5 separate regions of the Homo sapiens genome follow, and regions 1, 2, 3 and 4 are each linked to region 5. The links are contacts of gene promoters, found by promoter capture Hi-C in blood cells and fetal thymus (Javierre and others, 2016). All regions are on one chromosome and are shown on one strand. The core of a region is centred on a gene start or on the middle of the fragment in contact, and the rest is flanking DNA. Distances in the headings are between cores, read along the strand shown. Region 1 holds the start of LOC105377392 (a long non-coding RNA gene). Region 2 overlaps PRSS12 (serine protease 12). Region 3 overlaps SYNPO2 (synaptopodin 2). Region 4 overlaps PRSS12 (serine protease 12). Region 5 holds the start of METTL14 (methyltransferase 14, N6-adenosine-methyltransferase non-catalytic subunit).

Evidence for each region. Contacts are between HindIII fragments. The CHiCAGO score rates a contact against its expected background, and 5 or more counts as called.
Region 1: a contact is called between a fragment that was not itself captured here and the fragment with the promoter of METTL14 in region 5, in 9 of 17 cell types (total B cells, naive CD8 T cells, monocytes and 6 more). The highest score is 10.0, in total B cells.
Region 2: a contact is called between a fragment that was not itself captured here and the fragment with the promoter of METTL14 in region 5, in 3 of 17 cell types (total CD8 T cells, total B cells and fetal thymus). The highest score is 7.7, in total CD8 T cells.
Region 3: a contact is called between a fragment that was not itself captured here and the fragment with the promoter of METTL14 in region 5, in 1 of 17 cell types (monocytes). The highest score is 5.3, in monocytes.
Region 4: a fragment that was not itself captured here is called in contact with the fragment with the promoter of METTL14 in region 5 in 1 of 17 cell types (total B cells); the score reaches 5.2 in total B cells.

What each region holds. Positions count from the first base shown.
Region 1 is chr4:118,265,739-118,270,836 of GRCh38, reverse strand. LOC105377392 (a long non-coding RNA gene) reads left to right here and starts at 4,804. Exons shown (of 3, transcript XR_939113.3): 1 at 4,804-5,053. It overlaps LOC124900765 (a long non-coding RNA gene), which reads right to left and starts at 4,886. Exons shown (of 2, transcript XR_007058244.1): 1 at 4,855-4,886; 2 at 4,066-4,386. The HindIII fragment of the contact is 3,524 bases long and covers 137-3,660 here.
Region 2 is chr4:118,286,325-118,291,093 of GRCh38, reverse strand. All of the region lies in intron 11 of PRSS12 (serine protease 12), which reads left to right. LOC124900766 (a long non-coding RNA gene) reads left to right here. Exons shown (of 2, transcript XR_007058245.1): 1 at 1-1,394; 2 at 2,336-3,141. Among named protein-coding and RNA genes, the nearest start is that of SNORA24, 9.5 kb to the right of the region's middle. The HindIII fragment of the contact is 8,460 bases long and covers 1-4,769 here.
Region 3 is chr4:119,006,973-119,012,317 of GRCh38, reverse strand. The region is part of intron 1 of SYNPO2 (synaptopodin 2); the gene reads right to left. Among named protein-coding and RNA genes, the nearest start is that of SYNPO2-AS1, 25 kb to the right of the region's middle. The HindIII fragment of the contact is 3,399 bases long and covers 457-3,855 here.
Region 4 is chr4:118,304,403-118,309,354 of GRCh38, reverse strand. It overlaps PRSS12 (serine protease 12), which reads left to right. Exons shown (of 13, transcript NM_003619.4): 8 at 778-919. Among named protein-coding and RNA genes, the nearest start is that of SNORA24, 28 kb to the right of the region's middle. The HindIII fragment of the contact is 3,836 bases long and covers 1,596-4,952 here.
Region 5 is chr4:118,682,165-118,687,218 of GRCh38, reverse strand. It overlaps METTL14 (methyltransferase 14, N6-adenosine-methyltransferase non-catalytic subunit), which reads right to left and starts at 1,827. Exons shown (of 11, transcript NM_020961.4): 1 at 1,619-1,827. The coding sequence starts at 1,684. It overlaps METTL14-DT (METTL14 divergent transcript), which reads left to right and starts at 1,878. Exons shown (of 7, transcript NR_125930.1): 1 at 1,878-1,914; 2 at 2,752-2,811. RefSeq lists enhancers at 1,289-1,428, 1,609-1,868. The HindIII fragment of the contact is 9,570 bases long and covers 1,376-5,054 here.

The DNA.
Region 1 (5,098 bases), core at 649-3,148, 420 kb after region 5:
TCTCCTTTTTCTACACACAATATAGATTACAGATGTCTTAGGATGTCAAACATTTACTCTAGTACCCCAGCTCCAAATTACTTTGGCCCATTATCCATAAGCATTATAAATATCTGTATTAGTGGGAAGATAAGCTTACGTTTATGTAAAACTTGATGGAACGAAACAAAATCACATGAAACAACAGTTTTTATGTGGCCACTAGATGGCTCTGTTACACTATTATTTAGGTATATGTTTAAATCCCTTTGAATTTGTTACCTTATTATTTAGGTATGTGTTTAAAGCCCTTTGAATTAAATACATTTGTTCATTGTGCATGCATGTATTAATGTATATGTGGATAATAACATGAAAATGTCAGCATATCTAGTATCTCTAAAAGCCTATCCTCTGGACTCTAGTTTTATATGATGAATGTCTACAGTGAATATTGAAAACTTCAGGTTCTACCAGAAAGGAACAACTTTCTCCAGATGCATATTCTAAACATACCATTGGAATACACCAGACCTTTTTAATATGTGAACTTGATATACAGATTTTTAACATACTGAATTCATCAATTAGAGATTTAATTCATTTCCTACTGTCTGAAGTAGTTAATACACTGTTAATGTGTTGTATATCAAACTAGACAATGATTCTGTTGGAGAAATAAAATATTTCTGCCCAGTCTACTGGAGGGCAAGAATGTAGTCATATTCATCTTACCTGCAGTAGTACTTTGGAACATGCTCAATGAAACGTTTGTTGAATGAGGAAGCCAGGATGATAAAAGTGAAAAAGAATTCTGGGAAATTATACATAATGTACAGAAGGAAAAATGAATGCAGGGTAGTACATTTAAGCAAAACTGGCAAACTTTTTTGAATGTAGCTTAGTATATTACGGCAAAGTCGACTAACTCTTTTGGCCTCAGGCACATCTTACCTCTCTCTTTGCCAAAAAGTTTAAATTAAGTCTCCCCGCTGCAATAGGACTATATTTCAAATTTTATAATGGAAATCATTTCAGAGAGAAAAATTCTATGGCAAACTTTGAAACTAATTCCTATTAGTTAGTATTTATAACTGGAATAGGTCTTCACTGTCTCTACCAAAAAATACAAAAATTAGCCAGGCGTGGTGGCAGGTGCCTGTAATCCCAGCTACTCAGGAGGCTGAGTCACGAGAATCACTTGAACCTGGGAGGTGGAGGTTGCAGTGAGCCGAGATTGTGCCACTGCACTGCAGCCTGGGTGACAGAGTGAGACTGCATCTCCAAAAAAATAGAAAATCAAAAACGTAAAATAAAAGACTTCAGATGCTATATAAGAATAAATCCAATTTAAGTTAAATGATGAGAGCACATAGACACATAGAGAAGAACAGTACACACTGGGCCTACCTGAGGGCGGAGGGTGGGAGGAGAGAGAGGATCAGGAAAAATTACTATTGGGTAGTAGGCTTAGTACCTGGGTGATGAAATAATCTGTACAACAAACTCCCATGAAACACATTTACCTTTGTAACAAACCTGCACATCTTGCACATATACCCCTGAATTTAACATAAAAGTTTTTTTAAAAAAACATGCTATGGCTGATACATGCTATAGATGAAACTCAGAACCATGTCACTAAGTGAAAAGAGGCCAGACACAAAAGACTACATACTGTATGAATCTATTGATATGAAATGTTCAAAAAAGGCAAATTTACAGTGACAGAAAACAGATCAATGGTTGACTGGGGCTGGGTTGGGGGCAGGGCTTATCTTCAAATGGGCATGAGGAACCCCGTCTATCAGCCTTCTATCTGGGTGTCAGAGATCTTCTGACATCAGATCGCCATGATGGCTATTCAATTCCATTAATGACTCAGCAGTTATGAGATGTACACTTCACCTGGGTGAGTTTTACAGTAGCTAATCATACACCCTCAAAAGGTCTATTTAAAAAGTCATAAATGAATAGATTAATTTCCACCTTCCTGGACAGTGCTCAACCAGCCTTTCCATATTCACTCTTTAAAGTTCACTCTGTCACCGTGTATTCTACCTGTAACCTGTTTCTGGATTCTGCATGCTAACATTGCGTTGAGAATTGTGCCTCTTTATTCAGGAATATGATTGGTCTATAGATTTGTTTTCTGCCATCTTTGTAAAATTTCAAACAAAAAGTTTAAAATAAATGTCATACTTACACTATAGAGAGAAAAATAAATATATTTCATCTCCAAATGAACAATCATTAAAAAAACCTTCAACTGAATATGTAAGACGTGTTAGTAGTTATTTCTTAATTATATAAGTAAAACTATAGAAAACTAAGTAGAATAGAACCAGATAAGTGACTTTTGTATTTCTCTAATTTAAAACCCTTTTATCAGGATGATAATTTATGTAAATGGGCAGTATTTCTTAGAAAACAGAAGGTCTAGAAAGAAATCTCTGCAATTGAGGACTTAAATTTGATAAAAGCCATACGAATTTTGAAATACCCACCATTCTTTATAGCACTGAACAGAACTTACTGAAAAGGACTAAGAAAGTAAATTATATAAAATAACACAAAAGGGTTCTGAAAATAATTATTTACAGTATCTTTTTTTTTTTTTTGAGAGTCTTGTTCTGACGCTCAGGCTGGAGTGCAGTGGCAGATTTCGGCTTACTGCAACCTCCGTCTCCAGAGTTCAAGTGATTCTCCTGCCCCAGCCTCCCAAGTAGCTGGGATTACAGGCGTACGCCACCACGCCTGGCTAATTTTTGTACTTTTAGTAGAGACGGGATTTCGCCATGTTGGATAGGCTGGTCTCCAACTCCTGACTTCAGGTGATCTGCTCACCTCAGCCTTCCAAAGTGCTGGGATTACAGGTGTGAGCCACTGCACCTGACTACAATTATTTACAGTCTCTAAGGGAGATAGTAGTAATGGTGATAACTAATGTTTATTGAGTACTTATGTGCTCATTAACTCATTTAATCCTAACAATTGTATGAGCGCTATACAATTATTGTCTCTAATTTACAGATGAATAGATTGAGGCACAGAGAAATAATGTAATTAACCTAAGGTTTGAAGTGGATTTGAATGTAGTCTCACTGGCTCAGAGCCCATGCTCTTAACTGGTGTTGTGTGTAAAGGGAGAAAAATGATACTAGGTATAAAATAAGTCTGAGCTTTGCTACTTGTGTGACCTTGGGAAAATTATCTATCCATTCCAAACCTGTTTCCTCATCTGTAGAAGGAAACCAGCAGTATCTTCCTTTTGGTATTATTGTTAGGATAACTTATAAGAATTATCTGGTAATTATCATTTAAAAGTTAGAGGTTTTGTTTTTTTGTCCTACATTTAATAATTATTTTGCTAATTTTAATTATTATTTAAAATTGAATTTATTTTTTGTTATTTAGAAGACAGTTTTAAGTCTTTGTATGATTGGGGAAATATATATTTTTGTTAATCGAATTTATTGATTTTTATGAAAAGTTATACTTTTTTCTAGCACTTAAATATAAGAACATATGTATGTTAAAACTGTCATGTCTTTTCCAGTTACTTATTGTGAAATTAATTCAACAAGTATTTATTGAGCACTTATTATTTCAGAGACTAGACCCATCGATGTGGGGATATATTGATGAAAGAAAAGACAAATAGTTTGCTTTCGAGAAGCTTATTCAAGTAGGAGAAGACAAAAGATCTAATAAAATTGGTAAACTACAGAATTAGTTATAAGATTTTAAGTGCTATGGTTCAAAAAAGATTAGTTCGGAGTAATAGGAATCAGGAGTCAGGGAAGGGAGGAAGGGGTGAAATTTTATGTAAGGTTGTCAGGGTAGGCCTTATTGAGAAAATGACATCTGAGCAAAGACTGAACTACAGTGTAGAAGTTAGCCACGTTGATATTTGTGGGCATGTTAACATGAATGTCTTAAATAAGATAGTCAGCAAGGGAGCCAGTGCAACTGTTGCAGAATGAGAGTTTGAAAAGAGGAGCTGCGGTTAGAAAGGTGATGAATACCACATCATGTAAGGCCTTGCAGGCCACTATAAGGACCGTAGCATAAAAAGTAGAGCTATTGCAGGAATTAAAGTGCTTTGATTTAATTTGTAAAAGGATTATGTCCGGACTTGGTGGGTTCTTGGTCTCACTGACTTCAAGAACAAAGCCACGGACCCTCCCGGTGGGTGTTACAGTTCTTAAAGGCAGCGTGTGCAGAGTTTGTTCCTTCTGATGTTCGGATGTGTTCGGAGTTTCTTCCTGGTCTCGCAGCTTGTTTTTTCCTTCTGGTGGGTTCGTGGTCTTGCTGGTTTCAGGAGTGAAGCTGCAGACCTTCATGGTGAGAGTTACAGCTCATAAACACAGTGTGGACTCAAAGAGTGAGCAGCAGTAAGAGTAACTGCAAAGAGCAAAAGAACAAAGCTTCCACAGCGTGGAAGAAGACCCAAACAAGCAGGCTGCCACTGCTGGCTAGGGCAGTCTGCTTTTATTCCCTTATCTGGCCCCACTCACATCCTGCTGATCGGTCCATTTTACAGAGAGCTGATTGGTCCGTTTTGACAGGGTGCTGACTGGTGCGTTTACAATCCTTGAGCTAGACACAAAAGTTCTCCAAGTCCCTACTAGATTAGCTAGACACAGAGCACTGATTGGTGCATTTACAAACCTTGAGCTAGACACAGGGTGCTGATTGGTGTGTTTACAAACCTTGAGCTAGACACAGGGTGCTGATTGGTGTGTTTACAAACCTTGAGCTAGACACAGGGCGCTGATTGGTGTATTTACAATCCCTTAGCTAGACAGAAAGGTTCTCCAAGTCCCCACTAGACTCAGGAGTCCAGCTGACTTCACCCAGTGGATCCTGTACCTGGACCGCAGGTGGAGCTGCCCGCCAGTCCCGCGTAGTGCGCCCGTACTCCTCAGCCCTTGGGCGGTCGATGGGACTGGGCGCGGTGGAGCAGGGGGCGGCGCTCGTTGGGGAGGCTCCCGCCGCGCAGGAGCCCAGGTGGGGGGAGGCGCAGGCATGGGTGGCTGCAGGTCCCGAGCCCTGCCCCGCGGAGAGGCAGGTAAGGCCAAGCAAGAAATCGAGCGCAGCGCTGGTGGGCCGGCAC
Region 2 (4,769 bases), core at 666-3,165, 400 kb after region 5:
TATATCTGAGGGGGTAAGGCAAAGTTATTAATCTAGGGGGGCGTCTGTGAATGGGCTTGACATTATATTAAAAAAATCTTTGTATATGTTTGTACTTACATGCCTTTTTCTGGCAAATTGGTCTGTGTTACCAAATGATTTAAGTAGGAACTGGAGGGACTGTGAGGAAGGGACCTAATTTTATACTTTTATACTGGAGGGAGACCAGTTATAAGATTATTGTAATAATAGAAATAGGTGAAAAGGAAAGGAGGGAGTGAAGGTAGAGAGACTGTTAGAAATCAGTAGAGCCTGGTACAATACAACAGAAGGAGACTTGGATCTGGCCACCAAGACCAGGTTTACAATTCTAGCTCTTCCAATTGTTAATTGTTTAACTTTGCAGAAATTATTTAACCTCTTGGAGTCTCAGGTTACGTCATTTTACATCTGTAAAATGAAGATAATAATGTTCCACAGTGAGAAACAAATGATCTGCAAAGTATGTCAAAGTATTTTATAACCTCTAAAATTCAAAACAAATATTGGTTATTTTTATGTTGGAGTTTAAAGGCAAGAATTGAAGACTATATTAGTGAAAGTAGGGAACTGAGGATTATTTTATTTCACTTACTAATGGAGAAGAATAAGGTATAAAATTGCAAAGAACTTGAAGAAGCCTATTTTGGGGCTTTGAATTTAAGCAAAATAATCTGTTATCTTCCTGTTATTCAAGATTTCTTGTCTTTCAAATTTCAGCCAAAAGTTACAGTCATAGGAGTTCAAGGCTTAAAGTATTAAAGTAGGAAGATTGCTCAAAAGTTGCACTTGAGGTTAAACACTTTAACTTTTGGGTTCCCTGGATGGGCTCTTTTTTTTGTTGTTGTTATTTTTGGATTTATTTGTTTACATGTCATTATTTCTCCTTTGGCCTGCTCTGTCTTGATTATTGCTTAAAGTCAGTAATCGTCTCATTTCTCATTTGTGTTTATACACCAAGTGTCTACTGTATGACTTGGCACATAGTAGATACTCTGAATGATTGTTACATGATGAAAGTGGTGGCTCAGTTGCCAGATAGTGAATTATTTAAGAATGTTGGGCTTTTTAGAGGATGATGATATTTTCAAACTGAGATCAACAGATAATTCCTTCCATATGTCCTTTGGAATTTCTTCTCATTATTTGCACAGTTTAAGATAAAAATAGTTGATTAAAGAGCAGAGGAGCAGATTATGATATGCAGCATTTTGATATGCTTTGGCTATAATACAAGATTCTTTTAATGTGAGTAGGGAAAAAACTGCTTTGCAAATGTGTTATATATCCTTCTGACTTGGCTTTTACCTTTGCCGGATTTCATAGACTTCCTGTTTGAAGCGCCTAAGGAGGCTACAGCTCACATCTTTATTGATGTAAGTTTATTAAAAGGCATACAGCTAGTTACTAGTGATTAGAACAAGCTCCAAATTTTGTTTTCCTAGATTTAGGGACTTTTGCTTAAAACAAATCCTCCTTTCATCATCAGAAACACTGAAATTTGCAAAATAGAGACTGTAATCTAGAAGCAATGTAGTAGGGCTCTGAGAGGTTCCTGTCCTTTTAGATGCCAGGTGAAAGATACCTTAGTTTAATATAAGGCCTATAGGTAGGGGAACGGGATTTCATATTTTGAAATTAGCTTCCCCTCACCCCCTTTTGACATTTCCACTGCTTTATCAACTACTGGGCTTCTGTATACCTAAAGATTTCTTGTTCATCAGAGCTTCCTTGGTACCTAATTCTTGCAGTGATGTAGGCCAATGTTCTTGACCAGCCATTTCTGGACAATAAGGCATAGATCGTTATTACCATTTGTGTTATTTAATTATACAGGATTAGAACTTTTTATGTTTATTTGTTTGCCTTCATAGCATAGTCACTCTTTTATATAATCTTTGTATCAGAATAATCTAGGAATGGTGGCCTGATGAGGATGAGATCAAAATGCCATAATTCCACTCTGCCATATTAATGCCATAATGCCGCTAGCCTCAGTTACACTCATTTCATGTGGAGTAGTCTCTTTAAGGGTGCTTTATGTGAAGGCTGGCAAAGTTTTCGTAACTCAACTCTTATTCCCTCATAGCTTTCACACATTTCCATGCCAATGTAACAAGCGCACCTGAAGTAGTTGGTAAATCACTATTTAAAGGCTATCTCATTTTTCACATTTTTCTTAATGTTAATGCAATACACATGGAATGCAGTAGCCTGTTGGCAATTTGAATTGGAAACTTTGTTAAATTAAGTTCTTTTGTAACTGGCTTGTGAATCTTACATAATATAAATTGCTAATTTTTGCTTTCTATTCTAGATTGTAACTACAAGTACCATGAAATTGCCTTGCGTGTCTATTGTGGTGCAGCAATATAACTGAGACAAAAATTCCTGAATATTAATTTCTTTTAATTGCTTATTCTGATAACAAACCTGATTTTGCAGGAATAAATGTACCTGAAACAAGGGCTTTCTTATTTCTGTAATTTTACTCCAAAGTGGACTTGTTCAAGAATATAACTTTACCTGACTTTATCTCATTGACTTTTTGCCCTAGAAATGCAATAGTAGCTGGAAATTGTTAGAAATGACTAGATATTTCTAATTAGAGAGATGGCCACAGAGGTAATGGGACTTACTTTTTAAGAACACAGTGTGTCAGATGCCTAATATATGTTTCATCATGACATAGTATATGGTAGAGCAGAGCTCTTAGGAACATAGCCTTTGGTAATACACATATCACCAATCATGCTAAAACTATTTCTGTAGTACACATAGTATTTGTGTATGTGTAAGGGCTAACGCAAGATTCTACTGAGGTTTACTTCTCTGTAAGCAATTGGAACCATTTACATAAACAACTTCAGTCAACTACTTTTTGAGTTTCATCCAGAGAGGAAAAACAGATTTTAGTAGTAGCAGATGTGCATGGCCTGATGTAAAATACTGTTTTCCTGTAGAGACGAATCCATGTAGAGAAGAAACACAAAGAATATGACCCTGCAACCTGAATTAATTCTACTTTTAATTCTAGTAATTTGTTGTTGTTGTTGTTTACTTTAGCCTCAGAGTCTCAGAGAAACTTGGACATTGGATTTTAATAAACTACTGTGTCTCAGATCCTCTCTTGCTCAAACTTGTCTGGGAATTTCATCCAATTTTTATTTGAGGGGGAGTTGAAGGCATTTCAGCAAAGCAAACAACTGAATGATGTGTCAGCCAAAACCTGAAATGTTTGTTTTAGAAGCATTTTTGGATAAAATAAAGTCTATCAAAATAACAAAAGTTCAACTAGAAAGACCTTAAAATACATTGCAAAAGAGGATTGCTTTATATGTTGTCTTGAGAAGCCTAGAACCATAATAGATACTTCTGAAGTCCACACACATATTGAGTACTTCAGCCAAAGTGTTATCCCTAAAGCATATAATCATACCCACTAGGAGAGGTGACACTAGAAGACAAAAATTTGGTTGGAAAACTATTCCAATCTTGTGTCAGATGCTCTTCAAATTCTAAGCACAAAATATATTCTAAGAATAATTGGAGTTAAAGGAGTGTGAGACTCCATGCTTAGGTTTAGCTGGTACATTTCCCTAAATTAGGACAACTTTAAAAGTATAGGTACTTGGCCGGGTGCAGTACCTATAATCTCAGCACTTCAGGAGGCCAAGGCAGGCAGATCGCTTGAGCCCAGGAGTTTGAGGCCAACCAAGGCAACATAGTGAGACCCTATCTCTACAAAAAATAATTTTTGAAAATTAGTGAGCATGGTGGCATGCACTTGTGGTCCCGGCTGCTTGAGTGGCTAAGGCAGGAGGATGGCTTGAGCCTAGGAGATCAAGGCTCGCAGTAAGCCGTGATCGCACCACTGCGCTCCAGCCTGGGCAACAGAGTGAACCCTTGTCTCAAAAAAGAAAAAAAAGATGTGTGTGTGTGTGTATTCCATATATACATATGAACTAACAACTTCATTTTGACAAGAATGGTACTGTTCGCCTTTTTGTTAGGTAAATATTTTTATTCTCAGTTTAATATAAACTGCTGATTGGTGAGCATACAAATTCTGGGGTTTACCTGCCAAAATCTACTTGATCCAGGAACACAGTGTATGTATGGAACATGTATGCTTTTTGCATTTTGGTTTCTATTAGTAATCTCTTAGGATGCTTACTTCATCCAGTGAAGTTCTGGGCATGTACGGGCAGGAGTTATGCCCACACTTTTGAGTCTTTGGTTCAGTGGTTCCCAAGTCTGACGGTGGATCTGAACCCCATGGATTTTCATGGGGTTTTTATAGGAAATAGAAACATTTTTTGATAGTTTTGTTATAATATGGTAATTGATAAGATCTCTTTTTAATTTCAGTAAGTTAGGGATGAGAGTGTATGTATGTGGACATGAATGTCTTTCAAAATAACTCATTCATTATACATTTATTAAGCGCTTTCTCTGTGCCAAGCACTTTGCTGGGTGCTAAGGATACAATAGTGATCATGACATGGTCCTTGCCCTTGAAAAGCCTTTAATTAAGTCCTAGAAACTGTTACATATGCATTGAGAGTGTTCAAAAGGATTGGCTAGCTTTCAGGAGAGCAGAAGATTAGGAGGAGCCTCCTAGGAGATCTTTGACTTGATCAGGACAAAATCAGGTTTTGCCATATTAGGATAGAGGGGATGAGAGAAACAACATTGCACATAGTTTGGATAATGACGTGGGTTTGTAAGACAACTCTTCAAACGGTGTA
Region 3 (5,345 bases), core at 907-3,406, 320 kb before region 5:
AATTCAGGCTAAAGATCACTCTGGTGATGCCGGCAGGAGGAATGGAGAGGCAAACAGTTTCAGCCCAGTTCTGTAGATTCAGTCTATAGAGAGGTGGCTGGGCACAGTGGTTCATGCCTATAATCCCAGAACTTTGGGAGGCTGAGGCAGGCAGATCACTTGAGGTCAGGAGTTCAAGACCAGCCTGGCCAACATGGTGAAACCCCATCTCTACTGAAAATACAAAAATTAGCCAGACGTGGTGGCAGGTACCTGTAATCCTAGCTACTCAGAAGGCTGAGGCAGGAGAATTACTTGAATCCGGGATGTGGAGGTTGCAGTGAGCCAAGATGGCTCCACTGCACTCCAAGCTGGGTGATAGAGTGAGACTCCATCTCAAAAAAAAAAAAAAAAAAAAGTCTATAGAAAGGAGAGGAAGGGGAGAAGAAAATCTTTGCCAAGCTACTATATCAAGCTTACTTTGGAAATAGCTCCCATTTAGCTTCCAAACTACTGGCTAGTTGAAATTCCTTGAGAGCTAAGATTGCAACACAAAGATCTTTGTATCTCCCACAACCTGACATGTGTCTTGCACATAGTAGACCTGCAATAAATATGTGCCGAATAAATGACAATATGAGAAGATTGAATTTTACCCAAATGTCTGTATCAACTTTTCTTAATACCTGGGTCAACAGGCACTCCTAAACCTCTTACTTTCTATTTATTCTTTTTTCATAGTCTCTTTTAGGGTATGAGATTATTACAAAAGCATTGTAATACATAGAGAATTCCCAGGGCATTTGTGGAAAAGATTTGCTCCCATTGAATGTTGGACATCAGAGATACCTGAGTCTTCCCCAGCAAAGGCAACGGTCCCACCATGACTCAATAAGCAACTCCACAGCTGCTCCTGCCAATCACTGTATTTCGCCATCATTCTTCTGGCCCCATGAGAGAGGTAAGGTCATAAGGCAATCAGTAAAACTTAAAAATGATCACTGTGTAGGCTTGGTTGCAATTTATGGAGATAAACATATGCATCGAAGTAGAGTGAGGCGCTGGAGCAGAGGCACTACCCCAGGTGCTGCTGCACCTCCTGTGCACTCTGCTGGACCTCCTGTGCACTCTGCTGGTCTTGGCAGGTCCACGTGAGCTGAACTGGGCTGTGGCAGTGATTTCCAAATCCTGTACTTCAAGAAGGGAAATCAGGGTCATGCCAAGTGCCCTTGGTGTCCATGTAAGTGTTCTGTTAATGCGTTTTAAAGCCAGTCATGCTCCCTGCTGCGATTGACTAATAGTTCTCCTATTTATTTCAGATTGAGGAGAGCCTGCATGAATGTCACCATCTTGCCAAAAAGATCCTGGGCCAGAGCTAGCTAAGGAGAGCCTTGCAGAGGCAGGCAAGAACCCTCAGCTACTCTCTCTCTTCACTCAGCCAGGGGTCTGTGTTGAACTTATGTAAGGAAATGGAGTTGTAGCTTAAAGATTTGCTTATGTTACCTCTTTTGATTAATTAGTTAATTATACTATATATTAACTGATTGTCTTTAATGTGACAAACAGTGTTATGGGCTCTGAATTGAAATAATGAATAATGCCCTAGAGAGTCTCATATTCTAACATGTGTAAGAGAGTAGATAATTACAACCCAACATGATAATTTATATTATCAAAGTGAACACAGTATACAATGGAAGTGCATAGCACATAGCACATAGCAGGCAAGGCTTCTCAAAGGAGACAGTTTCTCCTTGACATGGTTTGGCTCTGTGTTCCCACCCAAATCTCATCTTGAATTGTACTACCATAATTCCCACATGTTGTGGGGGGGACCTGGTGGGAAATAATGTGAGTCATGGGGGTAGTTCCCCCATATTGTTCTCATGGTAGTGAATAAGTCTCACTGTATCTGATGGTTTTGTCAGGGGTTTCTGCTTTTGCATCTTCCTCATTTTCTCTTGCCGCTGCCACATAAGAAGTACCTTTTGCCTCCCACCATGATTCTGAGGCCTTCCTAGCCATATGGAACTGTAAGTCCAATTAAACCTCTTTTTATTCCCAGTCTCGGGTATGTCTTTATCAGCAGTGTGAAAACAGACTAATACACTCCTAAAAGACAAATTAATGTTAGCCTCATGCAGAGGGGCAAGGGAAGCCAGTGAGGCAAAGTCATAGAGCCTAACACATAGTAAACACTCAGTCAATGCTTACTGGATGACCTATTTTTTCACAACACAATGCCACCTCCCACGAATACTATAGTATCTAATAGAGTACTCAGAACAATTACTATGTAGGTGAGCTGACAGGTGTAACCTTACAAAATGGTTATGGAGAAAAACCCATCCTTGCTACTCAAGGTGAGGCTCACAGACCATCAGCAATGGAATCACCTGGAGGCTTGTGAGAAGCACAGAATCTCAGCCCCCAACCCAGACTTACTAAATCAACATCTTCATTTTAACGAGATCCCCAGGTGATTTCTATACACACTAGTGTTTGAGACTGGGCTGTACTAAAAGCTCATAAACCATTAATGGCCTTCTATTATAAGATGGTGGTTAATAACTTCTGGCGAATATCAGGCTTTCTTAGGGAGGACTTTCAAAGTACAGAACCCTGCTTTTATTCCCCTGCCTTCCATGGAAGCCAGTTCTTAGAAGCGGGAACCTGGGTATCTGCACTTTTAATGAGCTTCCCCGGGTGATTCTGAGTTCCATTATTTGACAGAACATGGTGTTATTTTCTATAAAATACTTTAGGAAAATATTTTGGGGGGCAATCAATTATGTTTATGTGTGTGTGTATGTGTGTGTGAAACAGGCAGATCTTTATTGAGTGCCTGAGTGACTTTCCTACAAGGAACCATATTATTAACTCTATTGAGCTTCAAATAATCATATTTTTCAAGGAGACTAGAAGATAAGTCTATGATCATTATTTTAAGATTTTTTGGCATGTTCTTTTATTTAAACTATATGCTTCTTATTGTTTTGAAAGCAAAGGTGTTCCAAAGCCAAGACTCTCTGGGTTAGAAGTGCAAACTTAATGTAAGCTGGTGTGCTGCTGAAAACTGACTACCTATGTGTAAAAACTATAGCCCAATTTTATCCCTAGGCAGATCATGCTTGCCAATAATTAGCTCTTCAAAAATATTTTGTATCAATTGCAAGCATACAAAAATCTTTACGAAGCATTTGATAATATTTGTGCTAGATGTACAATGGAATGTAACAACACATTGAAATTCTGGTTTATCTTAACTATAATTTTTATTAATTCTCTACCTGATCACAAAATTTAACATGCTGAAGACAAGAGGTTTTCATTTGTTCCTGATTTTCATTTGAAACCAAATATGATGAAATTTCCATTTCCTCTCTATTATTACATAAACCTGAAGCAAAGAGATGAAATTACTAAGTGCTTGCTTTATAGAAAAAACGATCTCCACATTAATTAAATTAGTTGTAAATAATATGGCATCTTCTAATATTTGAAGGAAATGGAGCAATTAAATGGCACATAAATATATTAAAATGTTTAGTAAGAGTTAAAGTTCAGCAAAAAAAAAATTTTACTTAACCCAAGCAACTACACAGTATCATATATAAATTATGCTTTTAAAGGAAATAAATGTTAATTTCTTGAGATGAACTTTTATAATCTTAAAAATTGTTTGTAAAACAAAATGTAAGTAATGTTGAGTCTCCTCATCTTGCTACAAAACCATTTGGATTTCAATGAAAACATCAAACACCTACTCTTTCTTTTCAAATAAATGTTCTGGCATTCATCTTTTATAATAACATATCATAATTTCTGTTACTATTTAATCTCACTTATATTTGCTAAGACATTTCATTCAAAGCTTGCTTTGCCAAGGAAAAAAAAAAAAAAGCCTGTGCAATTTAAACCAGTGTGCTCGCAAATGTCCACTGCTCATTTCACCTCAGTTTTGAAGGTATTCATTCATTCACTTAGTACTGAGTACCTCCAGCAGCAGGCAGTGTTCTAGGCTTGCTTTTCCCAGGATAGACCCAGGAAGAACTGGCAATTGGACTCCCATCTTAAAAGACTGGATATATGACATGTCTTGATAATCACAGATAATCACCAGTACCCACAGTGAGAAGGGCACTAAACTCATCAGGATTGACTTAATCCAACAAGTAAGTATTAAGCACCTAATATGTGCAAGTTACTGTACTATGAAATCTATGAAATCTATGAAGATGAATATGGCCGAGTTCCTGAACAAAGCCTCTCAGAAATGGAAAGCTGTTGCACTCTCTGCTGCAAAATTTAGTCTCCCATTTGTGTTTCATTTATTTGTCTGTATTCCCTTCCTCCTCTGGAAAATAATAATGTATCTTATAATAATGTACCTTACAAATTCTTCATGAGTCTACATGTGTGATCCATTCTCATATATTCCTCTATTAACACATATACACTTGACATGTTCATATTCCTTAAAACAAAATACATGCAGCAAAGGTATGAGATGATGTTGTTCACATATAAGTGTATAAGTAAATGTTTTGTCGGTTCGCCAATATCAGTGGTTAAAAAAACATTAAAATCCATATTAAAATAGGAAAGGATGTGATTGTAGGAAATGTGGCATGACACTCCTGGCACTAGGAGCTAAGACATAAACATGAAGACCAAGGCCAAGGTGGCTTGACTCTGGTGCCGCTGATGAGTGCAATGTGGATTTGGTTCCCAAGAGTGAAGTTGTTGGCTGATAAATGATGAACAGAGTATTATGAAATATAGGTTTGATTTATGCCATATAAGCATACGATCATGCCATATATAAGGCTTATAGACATAAATCTAAGTAAGTACTTTATGTGCTTCTAGGTCAATAATTTTAAAGTCAAACTATCCGATCATTTTGTTTTATGTTTTTTTTTTGTTTGTTTTTTGTTTTTGTTTTTAACATTTCAGGATGATCTTTTTCTCCCATGCCTTCCAGTTTTTAAAAAAGTTAGTGGTAAAATAGAGTATGCCTATATGTGCGTGTATATACATATATATATATATGTATATACATATATATATATATATATATATGTATATACATATATATATATATATATATATATATATACCTTTGTTCTTTTTTGTTTTGGGAATTTTCAGTCTCCTCATTCTTGTGTGTGTGTGTGCGTGTGTGTGTGTGAGAGACAGAGAGAGAAGAGAGAAAGGGAAGGGGAGGGGAGAGAATTGTTTGTAAGCCTCTTGAAGTTAGAGATCATGTCTTTCTACCTGGTACAAAGAGCCAAGTACATTGCCTAATGTGATGTCCATAACCCTTAGAAGTCCCGAAATGTAATGAAAACAACCGTAAAATA
Region 4 (4,952 bases), core at 2,264-4,763, 380 kb after region 5:
TCACCCTAATGACCTCACAATTCAACCCATGCAAGTCACAGTGAGGAGTTTCGATTCAAAATCATAATTATTGGTGTGGTGATATGTGACACTTTACAAATCCCTTCATTTGTATTAACTTAGATAAATCTTAATTTGCTAGAGTTCAGTTTCTCAACTTTTAACTCAGTAATTTTTGTGACTTAATTCTTTCCCTTAAAATCAATAGAAAGCCTTAGATGGTAACTGTCCCTATTTACTGCTTTTTTTTTTCTTTTTCTTTTCTTTTTTTTGCCTCCTCCAGCATTAGACTTGAATCAAGTTACCCAACTATGAATGCCAAGATTGTGTCTATTTATATCGTTCTAAAAATCTTGTCTTTGGTGTATAAACTTCTAGCTCTCTGTTCATGGATAAATGAACAGACATGAAGCAGAAACAACCTCAAGTTAATGTTCTTTTACTATTTAGAAGTAAGGTGTAATAAAATAATTCACAGTTTTATAATGCTGTTCATTCATTCAACAAACAGCAATTGCATATCCTCTGTATGCCAGGCACTGTTCCACAGTCTGGGGATACAAGGTTGAGCAAGGTGAGCACTTTGAATTCAAGGCTGCAAGAGACATACAAAAGTGGATAAAATTTTTATTGATATATCTCCTCTCTCTCAAAAAAGTATTTCCCATCTGATTTTATAGCTGATTAAAAAGAACAATTGTGTTTTGTAGAGTCGCTCATGCTTTAGAATCAGTTTGCATGTTTGGGCTGTTCTAATACTTTTGAATCATGACTTAGGTTTTCCTGTCAGACTGATGGATGGAGAAAATAAGAAAGAAGGACGAGTGGAGGTTTTTATCAATGGCCAGTGGGGAACAATCTGTGATGATGGATGGACTGATAAGGATGCAGCTGTGATCTGTCGTCAGCTTGGCTACAAGTAAGGAAAACCTAATTATTTGGGATGGTTACTGATGAGCATATCTGAATTTTTAAATGCTTAATCTAATGAGTTACTTTTTACTTAAAATGAGCTTCTGTCATTCATTTGAAAATACTGGCAGCATATTGATTTGATCCAGAATTATAAAGAAGTAATAAGTAGAGCCTATTCACATTTTTCTACTCACAGAAAATATTATGTCACACAAGAAATGTAGCTTTTTATCTAATAACAAAATAGTCTAATAACTCTGACTAGTCATAATACAGCTTGTATCAGCTTCTGTCAGTTAACCTTTTCTCTGTGATTGATGTTTCAACACTGTAGCCTTTTAAGGGACTCTAGAGTTATTGAAATTACTGTTGGTTCTCATTTTTCTTGATAGTTATAAAGTCACTGTGGACACTGAATTAGCAAATGCTGAGCCATTGCTCCTAGAGCTGAGGTCACTGCTCTCCCTTCTTGTTTCAGCTTTCATACTTGTTAACAGTTGTCCTCTTTTACAGTCTGTGTGGTGCCAATTTTTTTTTTTTTGCATTTCTGTGCTTGCTTTGCTGATGACTTCACTGTTTAAAATGGCCCCCATTTATAGTACCGAAGTGCTGTGTAGTGTTCCTAAGTGCAGAAAGGTTGTGGTGTGACTTAGAGAGAAAATGCATGCATTAGATAAGCTTCCCTCAGGCGTGAGTTACAATAAGAACATGGCACTAAATAGAATGTGAAAAGGACACTTGTTTACAGTGTGAGAGGAGCAAAAAAGAAGGCAGATCATCTCCTGTTGGTTAGACCTCAGCTGGGTAATTTAAAATTTTACTGGCTCTGCATATGTCATGAATGACTGTGAAAGCACCCTAAGTAATGATTTTGAAGTAACAAAAATATGGAAAATGTTACAATTCAGAGGGTTATAAATTTAAGATAATATGTATATAAATTGCCTAGCTCAGAGTAGATTACTAATAGTAATTTGGATTTAAAAATATATCCTTAATTATATATCTGTGTTCATTTTAAATATTGAACACTTCATATGGTTATTTTCTATAAAGAATACATGTTTATTTTAAAAAGCATTTCTGTTTTAATAAAAGTTCACATGTTGGGGGTAAACTTCAAAATCAAAGTTGTTTCTGGTTACTCGATACTACTTCAATTTATGGCTCAGTTTTGGACCCAGTTGCAATTCCAGTTGTCCTACAGCCAATTAATCCTTCATTTGTGATATAAATTTTCAATTTTCAAAATATGGGGCAGTAAAGTAGGGAGAGTCTACATTAGATGTGAAAGTGAATTTGGTCAGTGGTTAATTTTAAACTTCTTTTGCTCACTGTGTTTCTATCACTCCTTTTTCCATTTGAAAAAAAAATTATTCTTGTTCTTGCATTACATTCCCAGTACATTTCCTCACCCAAAATCAGCCATTAAAAGATATTGCTCTTTGAGACTGGTTTCTTGGCCATATTTTAATTTTATTGTCTTGGTGGAAGTGATCCAGGAAACCTAGTATTACCTTTGGAAATACAAAGGGGAAGATTGGCACCAAAGTTGACCTTCAAATTGTGTGTCTCAGCTAAGTTTAAGGAGAGAAAAATTTTCTAGGCATATTCATCAAGCATCATCAACACACATGTAGTCGTGTGTTATTACTTGGATTTCTTTCTAAATTGTTCATTACTTTTTATTTATCATCATTGATATAGTTTGGATATTTGTCCCCACCCAAATCTCATGTTGAGATGTAATCCATAATATTGGAGGTGGGATCTGGTAGGAGGTGTTTGGATCATGGGGGCAGATCCCTCATGAATGGCTTAGGCCATCCCTTGCTGATAAATGAGCTCATGCCCTGAGTTCACATGAGATCTGGTTGTTTAAAAGTGTGTGGCACCCTCCCACCCCGCTTTCTGCTGCTACTGTTGCTGTGTGACTTGCCTGTTCCCCCTTCACCTTCTGCCATGATTGAAAACTCCCTGGGCATCAGCAGAAGCCAAGCAGATGCCAGCCCCATGCTTCCTGTAAAGCCTGTAGAACTATGAGCCAATTAAACCTCTTTTCTTTATCAATTACCTAGTCACAGGTATTTCTTTATGGCAATGGAAGAATGGCCTAACACAATCATTTAGTCCATTTAACATTTAACTCAAAAGTGAATTTAGCCTCATGTTAGAATGGCTATGGTCAAAACAACAAAGGATAACAAGTGTTGGTGAGGATGTGGAGAAACTGAAACCCTTATGCACACTGTTGGTGGGAATGTAGAATGGTACAGCCACTGTGGAAAGTAATATGGAAACAGTATGGAAAACAGTTCCTCAAAAAGTTAAAAGTAGAACTACCATATGATCTAGATATCCCATTTCTGGGTATATGGCCAAAATAATTGAAATTAGGATGTCAAAGAAATATCTGCACTCCCATGTTCATTGCAGCATTATTTGCAATAGCCAAGATGTGGAAACAGCCTAAATGAATGGATGAAGAAAATGTGGTATGTATGTGTATATATATATACAGTTACTGAAAGACAAATACTACATGATTCCACTTATATGAGATATCGAAAATAGTCAAACTTATGGAAGCAGAAATAGAATGGTGGTTATCAGGGGTTGGGAGGAGAAGAAAATGGGAAATTATTTTTCAATGGGTATAAAGTTCCTGTCATGCAAGATGAATAAGTTCTAGAGATCTACCGTACAATACAGTACCTATAGTTAACAATATGGTACTATATACTTCAAAATATGTTGAGGGTATAGATCTTATTTGTGTTCTTACCAAAGCCAAATGAAAACAGAAACAGAACATAACAAAACAAACAAACAAACCTCAGAAAAGAACACAAGGAAATTTTTGGAGGTGATGGATATATTTAGCACCTTGGTTGTGGTAATGGTATCACAGATACATGCATATGTCCAAACTGAAGAAGATTTTTTATATTGATTATACCTAATTAAAGCTAAAAAAGAAGTGATTTTAGATGAGAAACACACTCTAGATTAAGTGAACAAAGTTTGTTGCAGCTTTCAATATTTCTGTAATACTTATCAATCAAGAAAAGCATCAAAAGACTTTATAATTGCATTTTAAATAGTCTTACAAGTAATTCAGTAATTTAATGTTACTATAACAAATTGGATAACATAATCTGCAATTTGCCATCAAATAGTATTTAAATGAGAATTGTTTAGCTATTTGATTAAATATACTTGAATATTTTTATAATTTCCCACTGAAGGGAAATTGGATTTCATATAAGAACATATATGTATATTTTCAGTATATATATATATGTGTGTGTGTGTGTGTATATATATATATATATATAAATTATAAACAGGTATGTGACTAGTGCCGAGGATCTTTTTTTCATCATGTCTATTTTGAATCACAAAAAATCTTTAATAAAGGACTTATTTGTAGAAATCAATCCAGGAAACTTTGAAGCTGTTATAAGATTTGAGCCTCATAAATAGGAATTTCAGAGATCTGTCCTCCAGCCAGTTCTATGATGCATGAGGATTAGTCCTTGGAAATACTGAGAATCAAAATGGTATTAGAAAGCCTTTTCATAATGGGAAAGACAGAAATGAGATAATAAAAAAGGAAATGTGAATGGTAACTAATACAGATATGCTTAAAGTGAACAGAAAGTAAAAGGCATTATTTATTGATGCATTACATAATGTCTGACAAAGTCTAGCATATGAGCATATTGTTCGTAGATTGTTGATAGAGAATGTGTTGAGATCAGTTAAATTCATTGAGATAGACTAAGTAGTCATGACGGAAATTCCATTATATTTACACTTTATGTGGATCCAGTAGCATATGTTCCAATATAGCATTGTTTTTGAACATGTTTGTTAGCGTATTAATCCTTAAAAAAATTTTAAAAATTGTATATTCTCACTGCTTTAATAGAGATCTAAAATTAAGTGTATCTGATATCTATTTTACATTTAAATAGCTGCAAAGGACTTAATTTCTGGTATATTTGTATGACATTTGAATATAAAACAGTTAT
Region 5 (5,054 bases), core at 578-3,077:
AAATCCTGAAAAAAATCTGAAATCCAAAACACTTCTGGCCCAAGCATTTCAGATAAGAGATATTCAACCTGCAATAGCAATAACTAAAAAAGGCAGATAAGACAGTGTTTGCACAGGGTTGTGGGTACCATGTTAAACATTTTGTAGGCATCAGCTTATATAACTTATTTATTCTATGCTCTAATAAAAATCGATCCAGTTTTACTCAAGCTAAGTCTTACTATTTATAGACACAAGGCTGAACTTTACTACCTTAAAATGGTAACATAAATTTTGTTTGGCAGTTTGGAAAATTTTGCAAAATACAAACAAATGTAAACAAATAATGGTTATAAGGCTGGCTAAGTAGAGTGCAACCAATTCATAAAAGACTTTAAAAGGTAGAGCCCCTGGCATCTGCTGAGTGTAAAACACTAAACAAATAATTGTCCTATGAATGTATATTGAGTCAAATAGAAGTTTGAATTCAATATTAAGGAGTAAAACGTCTTCTGTGGTAGCAACAAAGAGCTACTTAACATTTTTGAAGATAATACGATAAAAGAAGTTGGCGAAAAGAAGACTTAGAAAGGATACTTGATTTGCCCAAGATCGTAATGCCAGCGGGATAAGGAACAAAGGAACAAATCTGACTCCAAGTTTCCACGGTTTTAGCCATATTCCACAAATCTGTTCATCAGACCATAAAGAGGATAGGTTTCAGAAGTCCATTTACTAAAACCAAGTTTCATTACTGAAAAATAACTGCAAGATGACTAATTACACTCTATGAGCATTGCTCCTATCACTTTTACTGATCTGAATAGTAGAATGGAAAATACAGCCTCGATTTTAAGTAGAACTGTGCACAATCTGTATTTTCTGCATGTGCACTCTACTAATCAGCAAATGTTAACTTACTCATACACAAGAAAGAAGTGAAGGACAATGGTTTAGAAGACAAGCTTTGGGGAGACAAACCTAGGTTCTATTTCCCAGCAGAGAAGTGAGCGACCAGGAGTAAAATTCCTTAACGTATGGAGCCTTTTTCATTACTTGATAAGTGAAGGTAATAATACCTGTTTCAGGAGATTATTGTGACTAACACAGAGTAAGATTTCAAATATTAACTGTGGATGTGACAAGGATACTCTATATAAGATGCAGAATCTAAAATTTACACTCAGGCTACTTCCAGTGTTGTCTTCAGAAAGATGTCAAAGAAAATACTGTAAACGTATTTCATAATGAAACCACAATCTCAAGAATTTGGGGCTGACGACGAAGAAAAGAAAGAAATAGATGACCATTTAATAGTGAAGAGAAATGTAGGGGATAACATGACACTCATCCTGGCGTGAACATGCCAGACACTCGGTGGGAGTTCCACAAAGCTTAAAGGCTAATCCTGGCATTCGGTTTAGCACCACAAAGACCGCGGAAGGAACTGGAAAAACATTCGGGACACCGCGAAAATTGAGAACTACAAAGGCAGAACCAGGGATCAAGATCGCAGGACCAGAAAGGCCTTAACAGCGGCAGGTAGAGAAGGGACAGAAAAAGGCGGGGTGTGGAGGGAGGAGGCGGCCGCGCACTCGCATTCTCGATCCCTCCCACAGGGGACACCAGGGCCGCGGACCTGCTGCGCGAGGAGCTGTCGCCGTAACTTCTGCCGCTCCCGGATCTCCTGCAAGCGGCTATCCATGTTCCAACTCCGGCTTTTCACTATCCCGAGTACTTGTCAATCTCCAGTGAACTCTTATCCAACCTTTCTTCCGAGTCTGTGGAACAAAATTCACCGGGAGCTTACGAACAGAGTATCCTCATAGCTTTCCTCAGTAGAGACTTCCGGCGCGGCCGGAATTGGCTCGCTTGGCCCGGAAGTCCCGCCTCCTTCTGGACGCTTGCTATGTGACGCCACTTGGAAGGGACCCAGTAAGGGATCTGTTGCGCCACAGGGGTCTCCAGGGCCCTCGCAGGTTGGGGTGGTCTGAGCTAGTCTGAAGGAGGACAGTCAGCTGACTTCTCCTTTATCTCTCTTTCCCAGGATAGCAGGTTCCCTTGGTGTATTACAGTTTCTGAAGTGTTGATTCCCTTTTCAATTGATTCCACAGATGACAGTCCTGACGTTTAAAAAATTGCCAGATAACCTTTAATTTTTTTTTTTTTAACAGAACACAAACTTAAGCCAGATTGCCTAGGATTGAACCTTGGCCTCTCACTTCCTAGACGAGTGGCCTTGGCTAGTTAACCACCTTCGTGAGCCTCAGTTTTGTCATCTGTAAAATGGGAGTCATAAGTGTCTACCTCACAGAGCTGTGATTGAAAGGATAAATAGCACCTTGCACATAGCGGTGTAGAAGTGCTTGTTATTGTTAATATTTTATTTACCTTCACGCAGGTAACAGCCACAACATCTGCCCACTCTTCCCCACACCTTACTGTCCCTTGAAATGTTTCCCATTTTACTATAGTATGCATTTTTTGGCTTCTTCCCTTTAGGGAAATGAGTATGTGATAGTAAAGCGTGTCTTGGTTTATGTCCTAGGAGTCAGAAGCTAAGAGACTCCTTTTTGTGCTTGTACATTTGTCTTAACTGAAAATAACCCAAGGATAAGGAAACAAATAGCTTCCTGAAATTACTCGGATTGCGGGGGTGAGGGGTGAGGGCTGGGGGGTGGTGATTCTGTCTTCATAGGATGGCAGCAAAGGCCAAAGTCTTATTTGAGTTATTACCATTATTATTCACCACACTTGCCATCTTATTTCAAGCCTACAGTGGCGGAAGTGGAGTAAGACATCATGTTGCCTCAAGTTTAATTGGAAATCGCGGTAAGTACTTAACAAAATTAGTAATAAGTCTGTTCTTTCAGAGTAGATTTAATTTTCAGAAATAATATTAAGTCATCCAGATCAAAACCAGTTGAGTCAGGCTGGGCCAAAAGTGGGCAAGACTAGATTCTACTTAGTCATGCCCACTTTTATAGAAATAATTATAATGTATTTCCGAAGAACTAGGTCTGAAAGACAATTTTGAACAAGTAGTCCTAAACAATTCCTTGAGTAATGTCAGCACTACTTGGATACTGTAAAATATTTATGTCCATATGAGTTAAAGTGTATTTCTTTAAAAATCAGTTGTATTATCTGGCAATCATTTAAGTTGAATACTGATTTAAATTTTACCAATGGTGAGAATAGGCAATTATTCACTTAAATATCTGTTGATATTGATTGAGCATTTTATATGGCAAGCACTGTGATAGGCCCTAGAGTCTATAAAGTCTGTCAAAGATTAAAAACTAAAGTCGGTTTTTCTTTATGAGTTTACTGTCTAATGGAGGATTTTTCTTTTTCCTGATAAGTTGCTATGCAGGTTACTTGCTTGTAATCTTTGAACCCCATACTCACCTACCCTCTGCTTCGAGATGATGGCTAGGCAGGGAGTCCACAAACTACATTTCCCAGCCTTCCTTGTTAGATGGCTTCCTGTAAGACTCTGCCCACAGGAGGCACAGGCAGGAAATCAAAAGGTGGAACATGGGAAAGCTATTGTCCATTTATTTTACTCTCTGCTTCTGGCATCTAGAGCGATGACTATGTCCCTTACAAAGTCTAGAGCCAGTTGGAGCAGCCCCTCCTTTCCTTACCTTAAGAAAGTGACACCCTTAACAGTGAGTGAGTTTGCTCTTGTGCTATGATACTACTACTTCTACCTTCTGTTCCACCAGCTCAAGGACTGGTAGCCATCCTGCAGTTTAAAATTTCTGATTTAATCTTACTTCTCCCTTTTTGCTCTTCTAGCCTTCAATATCTGCTTAACTATTTCTCCATAGTGAATGGCGTCTGTTTAAAATACTTTTAATTATTTGTTTTCCTGCCTGGAACTGTACTGATGCAGATATGTACTTCCATGTAATATTTACAAAACTGTTGGAGTTGGGCAGAGGGTTGTTGCAGTTTGTACAAAGAAGGGGATATAATTTTGAAATCTCTCTCCCAACTAATGAATTTTAAAACACCAGACCACATCAGCATACTTGTAGAGAATTTTACAAGCCCATCAGTAACATCTGTTCATTATGACAACATAAAGGCCACTAGGGGGTGTGTGTGGCAGGAAGAGGGGGAAGAAATTTCGGAAGTCCTCACATAAAATCCATACTTTTTGAAGAAGCAATTTACTTCTAGGCACTTAATTTAAGGAAGTAAAGAGAGATCCACATTATAACTTATGCATCTCTCCCCAAGCTCCTGGAGACTGACTCCTCCAAACCTATACTCTACAACTCATGATGCTCCCCAACTTATGATGGGGCTATGTCCCAATAAATCCATTGTAAGTCAAAAAATCGTTAGGTGGGCCAGGCGCAGTGGCTTACGCCTGTAATCCCAGCACTTTGGGAGGCCAAGGCCAGCGAATCAACAGAGATCAGGAGGTCAGCCTGGCCAACATGGTGAAACCCCATCTCTACTAAAAATAAAAAAATTAGCCAGGCGAGGTGTTGGGCGCCTGTAATCCCAGCTACTTGGGAGGCTGAGGCAGGCGAATCGCTTGAACTGGGGACGCGGACGCTGCAGTGAGCTGAAATGGCGCCATTGCACTCCAGCCTGGGCAGCAGGAGCGAAACTGCATCTCAAAAAAAAAAAAAAAAAAAAAAATCGTAAGTGGAACTTATGTTAGTTAGGGACTGCCTGTGTAGCTAGTTGCCTATTATACATCTTACTAGAATGCCCTCCACAATCTCTTCTATGGTTTACATAGCTAGTAGCTACCGTACTAGTCAGCACATGTCTAGGTTCGAGAGTATAAATACCTAAACCACTTAGCATTTTATACAATACTTTGCTGCCTCACTGATACAGTTCGAATATAAGTCCCCGCCCAATCTTACGTTGAATTGCAATCCCCAGTTTGGAGGTGGAGGCTGGCAGTAGGTTTTTGTCTCCTCCAAAAATTCATTTTGAAACTTAATCCCCAATACAACAATATTGGGAGGTGTGGTGTATGGAAGGTGATTGAGTTATAACCGGCTCTGCCCTCATGAATGGGATTAGGTACTCTTATAAAAAGG